Regions from separate parts of the Homo sapiens genome. Here region 1 is linked to region 2. The links are contacts of gene promoters, found by promoter capture Hi-C in blood cells and fetal thymus (Javierre and others, 2016). All regions are on one chromosome and are shown on one strand. Each heading gives the region's core, a stretch centred on a gene start or on the middle of the fragment in contact. The rest is flanking DNA. Distances are from core to core; before and after follow the strand shown. Region 1 holds the start of S100A12 (S100 calcium binding protein A12). Region 2 holds the start of S100A7 (S100 calcium binding protein A7).

What was found. Contacts are between HindIII fragments. The CHiCAGO score rates a contact against its expected background, and 5 or more counts as called.
Region 1: a contact is called between the fragment with the promoter of S100A12 here and the fragment with the promoter of S100A7 in region 2, in 5 of 17 cell types (naive CD8 T cells, total CD8 T cells, naive CD4 T cells and 2 more). The highest score is 7.2, in naive CD8 T cells.

What each region holds. Positions count from the first base shown.
Region 1 is chr1:153,374,157-153,379,354 of GRCh38, forward strand. S100A12 (S100 calcium binding protein A12) reads right to left here and starts at 1,465. Exons shown (of 3, transcript NM_005621.2): 1 at 1,396-1,465; 2 at 299-456. The coding sequence starts at 436. The HindIII fragment of the contact is 5,829 bases long and covers 1-1,563 here.
Region 2 is chr1:153,458,316-153,463,210 of GRCh38, forward strand. S100A7 (S100 calcium binding protein A7) reads right to left here and starts at 2,336. Exons shown (of 3, transcript NM_002963.4): 1 at 2,293-2,336; 2 at 558-715. The coding sequence starts at 698. The HindIII fragment of the contact is 9,190 bases long and covers 1-4,895 here.

The DNA of each region.
Region 1 (5,198 bases), core at 215-2,714, 85 kb before region 2:
AGGCTTGACCTGGAAGGTACTCTTCTGCTCACTCATTCAACCCCTCCCGTGCCCTGCCTCTCTCCATTTTACATATGAGGAAACAGACTCAGAGAGAGGAACTGAGTAGAGCCTTAAGTGAGTTATTGAGAGAGGGAAGCAAAGGACCTCTCCCACAGCAGCGGGGAGAGCATCCTTTGGGAGCTCAAACTGGGGCCAACCCCACCCCAGTCCTTGTCCCACCATCCTCTGCCAGGCCTTGCCACTCCCCTCAGTGCAGGGTCATGGGCAAGTTTGCAGTGAGAGGGGCATCACCTACCTTGATGGTGTTTGCAAGCTCCTTTGTAAGCAGCTGCTTCAGCTCACCCTTAGAGAGGGTGTCAAAATGCCCCTTCCGAACTGAGTATTGGTGGAAGATATTGACAATTCCCTCCAGATGCTCTTCAAGTTTTGTCATCTTCCCAGCCTAATGTTAACCTTCAAGGAAACAAGGGAAGTCTAGAGGCAGTTTCTCCCCCACCCCTCAACCTCCACTCTCCCCTCTCTTTCTGAATCAAGGGCCTAAAGAAAACATAACATCCTCCATATCTATTTTGTGGTCTCTGCTCTGTTTGATCCATGGTGAACTTCTCATGTGTGGATAGGATGGGGAGGAGAAAACATATAATACTGTCTAACGTCTAAAAAAATCAGCCTCAGTTGCCCATGTTCCATACCACCTCATCCACCGGGGTGCATAACTTGGAGGGTATTGCTTACTCAAGGTCCCTTGGGAAGGGTTCTGTGATTGGCCAGGCTGTTTGCTTTCCTCAGGTGATGGCACTATGGCCACATATCCCCCACAAATGGTCCATAACCCACCCCTGCTTAGCCATTCTTTTTTTGTTGTTGTTGTTTTGGGTTTTTTGTTTGTTTGTTTGTTTGTTTTTGAGACGGAGTCTCACTCTGCCGCCCAGGCTGGAGTGCAGTAGGGCGATCTCGGCTCACTGCAAGTTCTGCCTCCCGGGTTCACGCCATTCTCCTGCCCCAGCCTCCCGAGTAGCTGGGACTACAGGCACCCGCCACCACGCCCGGCTAATTTTTTGTATTTTTTTAGTAGAGACGGGGTTTCACCATGTTAGCCAGGATGGTCTCGATCTCCTCACCTCATGATCCGCCCGCCTCGGCCTCCCAAAGTGCTGGGATTACAGGCGTGAGCCACCGTACCCGGCCTGCTTAGCCATTCTTAAATCATGGGACTGAGTCTACATAGCACAACAAGAGCTGATCTACTTGGGTCCAAAATGCAATATCACCCCAGAGGTGCTCAGGCAAGTGGAGGGTTGTGGTTTCCAACACCTTGTGATTTCAAAGTGGTCACCTGCAGTCACTACCCTGTGGACCACCTAAGAACCCATCCAAGGAAAATGCACTTACCCCTCAATGCACAGGAATGTGGAGCTACAGCAAAAAGCCAGCAGTGGTGAAGGGCACTGAGCCAAGGAAGGTTTTATAATCAGTTCAGGCTTCATCTTAGCCCTTGGGTGAAGAAATCTCTGATTCATCTTGAGGCAATTTATGTAAAGTACTCTGTTGCTCAATAGAAGCTTCAAACCTGTGGCTTAGGCTGCCACAGGAGCAGCCCAGATTGTACCCAGACTGAATTTTGCCCTCCTGCTCAGCCTGAAACAAAATCACCCCCACTCCACCCACCCGCACAGGGGTGCCCTGAACCTTTTTTAGCCCTGAGCCAGGGCCCAGGTTTCAGGTTTAGCTCTACTCCACTGCTCCCTAATAAAAGACTAGGAGAACAAACTTTACAGCCTGAGTGTCTTGTTTTAACAGATGAGGTTACCAGCTCTTCAGTTTTGGCAAATGGAATATCAACTTAAAGATCTTTATGCAGCTAAGGAGATAGGTAGGGAGACCTCCTCCTAAGTCGTTCTGGGATGCAAAGTTCATCACTGGAGCAGAGGATCAGTTTTCAAAATAGATTCCAAGGTTTTCAAAAAAGGAGAGAGCAATGCTACTATGCCTCCCCTTTGCTTTCCCAACTTTCTAACTTGGCTGTTACAAAGACCTAGAAAGCTGGAGTAGGGTAATCATTGTGTGTGAAGAAAGTTCACCATGCCTAGGTTACTTTACCATGTTCATGAGTTCAGTAAGACAGAACATTCACACGAGTTTTAGTAAAGCAACTTTATTACTCACAGAGAGGCAGCAAGGGACAACAGATGCCCAGGATTCATGGAGAGGTGGTCCTTCAAGATTCAGAAACCTGCCCAAAATGGATTAAGTCTCATCTGTACATTCCCCATGTCGCACCAAAGCTAAGGGACATCCAAAAGCACTCTGCCCTTGGTTTATGCCTAGAGGTCAATAAGATTGCTGAGCAATCAAGGCCATGCCAGAACCTGTGCTGCCATCTACCCCACAACACAGATATCCCCCTTAGCAAAGCTAGTTCATTTCATGTGCCCACCGACCTCTCTGGATCTGGAGGCAAAAGTCTGTCTCTCCGATCCATGTGTCACCTTGACTGACACAATCTCAGTGCAACATTGTTAAGCCATTGACAGTATTTGTTTCACTAGGCCCAGGAGGACACCACCAGAGCAGGATGATCAGGCTTGTGTAAATCAATGACAATGACCAAGGTGAATCTCAATCATTTTAGGAGGTTTATTTGGCCAAAGTTAAGGATGCGTGCCCAGAGGTAGGTCTACGTCTTTCTCCAAAGATGATTTTGAGGGCTTCAATATTTGAAGGAGAAACAGTGGATATTGGGGGAAGAGGAAGAAATATTTTTTAAATGTGTCAGTAGATAAGAGACAAGTGATTGCATCCTTTTGAGTCTTTGATCAATCTTTCACTGAATACACAATTTTCATGTGGGAGCGGAGTAGAGGAAATAGTCACTTATGCCTTCATCTGGCTCAGTGAATCTGCATTTTTACATAAGATAACAAAAATAGGGGAGAGGAAGCAATCAGATATGGATTTGTCTTGGGTGAGCAGAGGGATGACTTTATGTTCTGCCCTTTGTCCCACACCTGTGAAGATAAGCTGTCAATTACACTGCCAGGGTGAAATTCAATAGAACTGTTTTAGGGTAAAGATCTTGAGGCTCACAAGGAATTTCCTTGTGGGCAAGTTGTGAGATTGGTGTATGGCTTTTTATCTTTGTAGCTATCTTATTTAGAAACCAACCTGGGTGGGGGCAGGCTTGCATGACCCATTTCCCAGCTTGACTTTTCCCTCTGGCTTAGTAAGTTTGGGATCCTGAGATGTTTTTTTTTTTTCACATCTGCCTGGAGAAGGGACTAGCCCAGGATCCCAGCCATCCAGGCAAGAGGTTGCTAAATGCGGATCACGAGGTCAGGAGATCGAGACCATCCTGGCTAAGATGGTGAAACCCCATCTCTACTAAAAATACAAAAAATTAGCCAGGCATGGTGGCAGGCACCTGTAGTCCCAGATACTCAGGAGGCTGAGGCAGGAGAATGGCGTGAACCCACAAGGCGGAGCTTGCAGTGAACCGAGATCGCGCCACTGCACTCCAGCCTGGGCAACAGAGTGAGACTCCCTCTCAAAAAAAAAAAATAGAAATCAAAAAAGCAGGAACACAGCCTCACATACAAATATTAACCTCCAATGTGAATGGCCTAAACACTGCACTTAAAACACATACCTTGGCAAATTCGATTTAAAAACAAGACCCATCCTTCTGCTGTCTTCAAGCACCTGTCTCATGTGTAATGACACCTGTAGATTCAAAGTAAAGGGATGGAGAAAGATCTATCATGCAAACAGAAAACAAAAAAGAGCAGAGGTTGCTATTCTTGAATCAGATCCGATAGACTGTAAGCCAACAACAGTAAAAAAGGATAAAGAAGGGCATTACATAGTGATAAAGGGTTCGATTTAACAAGAAAATTTAACCATCCTAAATAAATACACACCCAACACTGGAGCACCCAGATTTATAAAATAAGTACTTCTGCATCTAAGAAAAGATTTTGGCAGCCACACAATAATAGCAGGGGACAACACCCCACTGACATCAGTAGACAAATCATCAAGGCAGAAAACTAACAAAGAAATTATGGACTTAAATTTGACACTTGACCAATTAGACTTAATAGACATCTATAGAACAATGCACCCAACAACCACAGAATATATATTATTTTCATCTGCACATGGAACATACTCTAAGATCAACCACATGCTCAGTCATAAGGCAAATCTCAATAAATTCAAAAAAATCAAAATCATACCAAGAATCTTGGACCGCAGTGGAATAAAAATAGAAATCAATACCAAGAGGAACTCTCAAAACCACACAAATAAATGGAAACTAAACAACTTGTTCCTGACTTTTGGTTAAACAACAAAATTAAGGCAGAAATCAAAAAATTCTTTGAAACATACAAAAATAGAGACACAACACAACATATCAAAACATCTGGAATGTAGCAAAAGTAGTGTTAAGAGGGAATTTTTTTTTTCATCTTGGATGTGGGCGAATCTCATTTTAATTGCAAAAGACTTCATTCACAGCACATTCAATAATGGACCAACAGGAGAGTTGCTGGCTTTTGAACATATGAATATATAAAAATACCTTGCAACTTAGGTAGTCAAGATAATAAGTGCATAAAAGGAAAGCAATCCTCATTTTTCTGAAAACTTTTACATTTTAAAAGGTGACTAGGCATACTTGGAAGTTCAAAGCTGTAGAATGTACCTTGCAGGGGAAGAAGGAGGAAAATCCTTTCCATGTTTTTAGGTAAATATATAACAAATATATCCCAATTCCACTTGATAAAGTCAGTTGCATGACTTCCTTGAACCAGGCTAGGGCAGAACACTCAGTAAAAGCAGGCCCTGGGTGGGGATGTGAATCCTGAAGAGGAGCACCAGATCCCACGCAGCACTAAACACATCAGTTTTACCCTCTAACATAGATGAGGCACGCCGCCCCATGACCCTGGACAGGGGATGCAGGAGAACAGACATCAGGTGGTTACTGCTCCCACTGCCTGGTGCTTTCCAATGGTTTTAAGTCAGGCCATGGAGAAAATCCTTTACCACCAAACACAAACTGCCATTGAACTTGTCATAAAGGATGTTATGGGGGAAATTCTTGAAACACATACATAAGGACTTCTATTTACCTAATTAGAAAAATGATTACAGAATTGGCATTCCTGTTTTCGTAAGATTTTGTTCTCTAC
Region 2 (4,895 bases), core at 1,086-3,585:
CAAAATTGGCCCTCATGCTTTTGTTCTCTTCTTTCTCTGGCCTCCTCTCCTTTCTTCTCCTTTTCCACCAAACTCATCTTCTGGGTATCCTACTCTTGGTCATCTAGACCCTTTGGTACCTAGTAGCCCACAGTTTTTTTTCAGATTTGCTAATGAGTCTTGTTTATTGCAAAGAGGGCTATTGATTTCTACTAACAATGGAACTTCTAGTGCTTTCCCAGTAATCTCAGGGATGTTGATGTGGGGCCTTTGGGAAACAGGACCTGAGCATGTGAGTTTCAGTCTCACAGAGAGAGGGTCAGTGAGTGCTGGGAGGGGACTGTGCACTGCCCTCAAGCTGCACACTTTGCTGACCATCTAATAACCTCCTTTATATCTGTATAACTCTTTCCCATTTTCATACTTTTTTGCCTACCATCCTTAGATTCACATATGATCCAAGTAATAAAGCCCTATTTGCAAATGGGAAATTTTTTAATCAGAGGGTGAGGGTGATCTGTCCAAGGCCACATAGCAAAATGTATCCTCCAACATTGAGAAGCTAGACACCGACTCACACAGGCACTAAGGAAGTTGGGGAAGTTCTCCTTCATCATCGTCAGCAGGCTTGGCTTCTCAATCTTGTCATCACGTCTGGTGTATTTGTGAAACATGTCGATCATGCCTATTATGGACCTCTCAGCTTGAGTGTTGCTCATCTTTGCTTTCAAAAAGCCTTCAGGAAATAAAGACAATCATTTTTTTCCCTTCATTTAAGTTAGGGTCTCTATTTGGGAGTGCTGGAAGGAGGGCTGAGGACAGAGTAAAAACACGGATAAGGTGTAGCAGAACGAACTCAATTTTTTTTTAATGTGATGGGATAAGTTGCTCAAAAATGAGAGGGTAGGACCAAGTCTGAGACCTGGCCCATCCTGGCCAGGGCCAAGAGGAGATGCAGGTGGATGGCGGAAGTCCAGCTGTGGACAGTGCTTCAGAGAGGGAGAAGCAGGGAGAGTCGGGCGCCAGCAACACATGGAAGAACTAAGCTGGGACACCCCAGCCTCAGCCAGCACATGGCAGACCCCACTCTTAAAAGAGCACCAAATCCATCTCCTCCAGCTTCACAGTCGGGGTGACAGTCATGGGGGCAGGACAATGGCCTTGGTGATCTGGTGTCTGACCCTCCTCGGCTGCTTCAGGAACCAGACACCGTGGGCCCCACCTTGACTCAAGTGCAAGCCCTGCATGACACGGTGTGTGCAGGCTCCAGGTGCACATGTGAGCGTGGACGTGAGTGTTAGCAGGAAACACAGTCCTGTCCCGAGCACAGGGGGCCCTTCTTGTATTCCCTTGGGAACGAGAAACAGGAATGGCCTCTGTTACAAGGAACAGAAATAACTCTCTGGTTCTTAAGCTGCTGGACGGGGTGGGAGTGAGGTGGGAGTCACTTCATGTCTGCTCTTGGGAATTATCTGCACCCTCTGAATCACCAAGCCTTGACTGTTTAAATAAAAATGTCTGACTTCCCAAAGCAGATCTTTCAGCCAGTAGTCAGTCTGGGCTGGCCTGCACCCCAAGCCTGAAAAATAGGACAGTGCAGTTCTCACTTCCCACACTTTCCAAAGAACCAGGAAAGGACCTTGGCTAATGCATATGGGTGTCTGACAATAAACCCCCAACACCTCTCAATGCAGGAGAAAGCTCCATGCCGGCAACTGACTAAGAGGAGCCACCCAGAGCTTTTTTGAATCTGAGGCCAAGGCCAGAGGGCAAGCCCTGTGCCCAGAGGGTGACTGACAATTTGCAGGTTGTGGTAGGGAGTGACGGAGCGTTGGTTTCTCAATACCTTACCCAGGTAGGGGCAAGCCATCTGGCCAGGGCTATGCTGTGTCGGGGTCCCAGGCCTGGGGGTTTGGAGAGCCTCCAAAGCATTCACAGGGGACCCCTAGCCCTCCACCCTCTGTGGAGCTGGAGCTGGGGAGGGGATTTAGCAACCGGGACCCCAACAGGAGGATGAATCCAGGGAGGAAGAGGACAGGGAGGGTCCTGTGCTCAGGTCCCACTGGGGACATTTCCACAGGAGTTGCCTCAGGAGATCCCAAAGGAGCAATGGACAGGTCTGGTTCAGCCACCTGGTTATACAGACGTGGGCTTTTGGGGTCAAGTGAAGGTCACACAGCCCAGCTAATGGCAGAGCTGGCCTAGACCCAGGCTTCTGAGTCTTTGTCCACAGCCCTTTCCCTTCCTACAGGCAGCATGGCAGGCCAGGCACTGGGCACTTCTAGAAAACGCAAAGAGGCAGGTGAGACTTACCAGAGCTGGGAAGCGTCACGAGTAGAAGGATGAGTGAGATGTGTGTGTTTGGACAAAGAGCAGTCCTTTATAAGGCTCAGCCTGGCTCTTCCCAGGGGCTGGGAGGCCTGGGGCCACCTCTGTCATCTGTTTCTTGGAGGCTTGCCCCACATCAGGTGGGTGGGACACACCCAGGAGGCTGTGCTCAGGATTTCTGGCCAGTGTCCCAGGTCACCAGGTCCCACCCCACCCCAGAGACCTCACCTGGAGTCTTCTCTGGCTCAACCTTGATTTGAGGGTAAGGCAGCGGTACATGTGTAGTAGCAGGTCAGAAAATGGGAGAAAAGAGCACTGGGCCTCTGGACCCAAAGAGGATGGAGTTTCAGACTCCTGAAGGCAGCATGGTCTTGTTTGTTCCCTCCCCTTATCCTTCCACACATTTGTTATGACAGCCTGTTCTATGACCCCCACCGCTGACTGAGCATTTTAATGTCTAGATATCAAGATACCTGCTGCTCCTGCATCCTCCTCAACCCTCATAGTCCTAAGAGGTGCTTCAATCTCTATTTTAGGAAAGGAGAAGTTGAGATGTTCCCAAGTTTACTCAGCTAGTAAACACAACAAATCATTATATGGACTCAGAAAAGCCTGAATCAAATCCTTACTCTTATCCCCTGTGCTATAGGTCTTGGGTCACATCAGGGTCTGCCCTATGGGAACTCAAAGTCCAGGGAGGGAAGCAGGGTTACTTCATTGCTAACCATTGGTCAGCCCCTCACAGAAGCCCTGGAATTAGGTGGGGGGACTGGGGTCAGGGGCCTCACTATCTAGGTTGAGTGGTGGAGTGACCCCCCCATGGAATGAGCCTGGAGGCAGGGAGTGGGAAAAGTTCTTTCCTGCCCCATGGCACTAACTTCCCAGAAAGTCTTCAGTGTTTTTCCTCCTCCTATGCAAAACAGCCTGTGTAGGAGTTGGGAGTTGTGCCCTTGGCTATAATGTGCCCTAACCTGCTGTGGAAAGGCTGACCCAGGTAGGGGCAAGAGGGTTGGGAAGGCATGGGAATCCCTGGGGCATGGTGAGGAAAGGGAGATGATGAATCACTGAAATGGACTTTTTCTGCTACCCCCTTGCAATGTTCCTTTTAGGGTGCAAGAGAGTTCCAGGTTCATTTAGTGCCAGCCCTTTAAGCACTCTGGGGCTCCACAGAGCTGATGTGATGTCTCCCTAGGTGGGACCTATTTTCTCCACCCATCATCTTTCTTCAACTTCCTTCTCGTCAGTACCTATGTAACCAGGGGGACCTGTTTCTCCCTCTCCCAGTTCCCCATGTGATGGCAATATTACTTTTAACAGCAAAAGATACATACACACACACACAGTGGAATGCTACTCAGCTATAAAAAAAGAATGAAATCACGCTTTTTGCGGCAACATGGATGGAACTGGAGGCTATTATCTTAAGTGAAATTACTCAGAAAGTCAAATACTGTGCAACCTCATGTGTAAGTGGGAGCTACATCATGCATACAGATGGAGGTAGAGAGTAGAATCATAGACACTGGAGACTGTGAAGGGCAGCAGGTGAGGCGGTGGGTGAAGGATGAGACATTTCTTAGTGGGTACAATGCATGCTATTTAGGATGGCTTCATTAAAAGCCCAGACTTCACCATTGTGCCATATATTCATATATATGTGTATGCAGGTTTTTGTGTGGACATAAGTTTTCACTTCTTTTGGGTAAATCCCAAGGAGTGTGATTTCTGGATCCTATGGTAAGAGTATGTTTAGTTTTTTAAGAAAGCACTAAACTGTCTTCCAAAGTGGCTGTACTATTTTGTGTTCCTGCCATCAATGAATGAGAGTTCCTGTTGCTCCACATCCTTCTTCAGCATTTGCTGTTGTCCAGTGTTCCAGATTTTGGGCATTCTCATAAGTGTGTACTGGTATCTCATTGTTGTTTTAATTTGCATTTCCTTGAGGACATATGATGTGGAGCATCTTCTGATATGCTTATTTGTCACCTTCTGTATCTTCTTTGATGAGATATCTGTTAAGGTCTTTGGCCCATTTTCTAATTGTTTGGTTTGTGTTCTTATCGTTGAGTTTTAAGAGTTCTTTGTATGTTTTGGATAACATACAAAGTCTGATATGTCTTTTGTAAACATTTTCTCCCAGTCTGTGGCTTATCTTTTCATTCTCTTGACAATATCTTTCACAAAGAGAAATGTTAAATTTTAAAGAAGTCCAGCTTATGAATTCTTTCTTTCATGGATTGTGCCTTGGTGTTGCCATCTAAAAGTCATCACCAAAACCAAGATGATCAAATTTCCTCTTATGCTACCATCTAGGAGTTTTGTAACATTGTGTTTGCATGTAGGTCTATGATTCATTTTGAGTTATGTATCATCACTGTTTAGAAAAAAGGAACAGAGGAAAAGTAATACAAAAGGAATCAGGGACAACAATATTAATACAAGACAACAAAGAATTCTAAGAAAAGGGATTAAATGAAAAAGAAGAATATTTCTTATTGATTAGTGTGCAAGTCACCAAGATGCGGTAGTCTTATTCTTTTTTTTTCTTTTTCTTTTTTTTGAGACAGAATTTCGCTCTTGTTACCCAG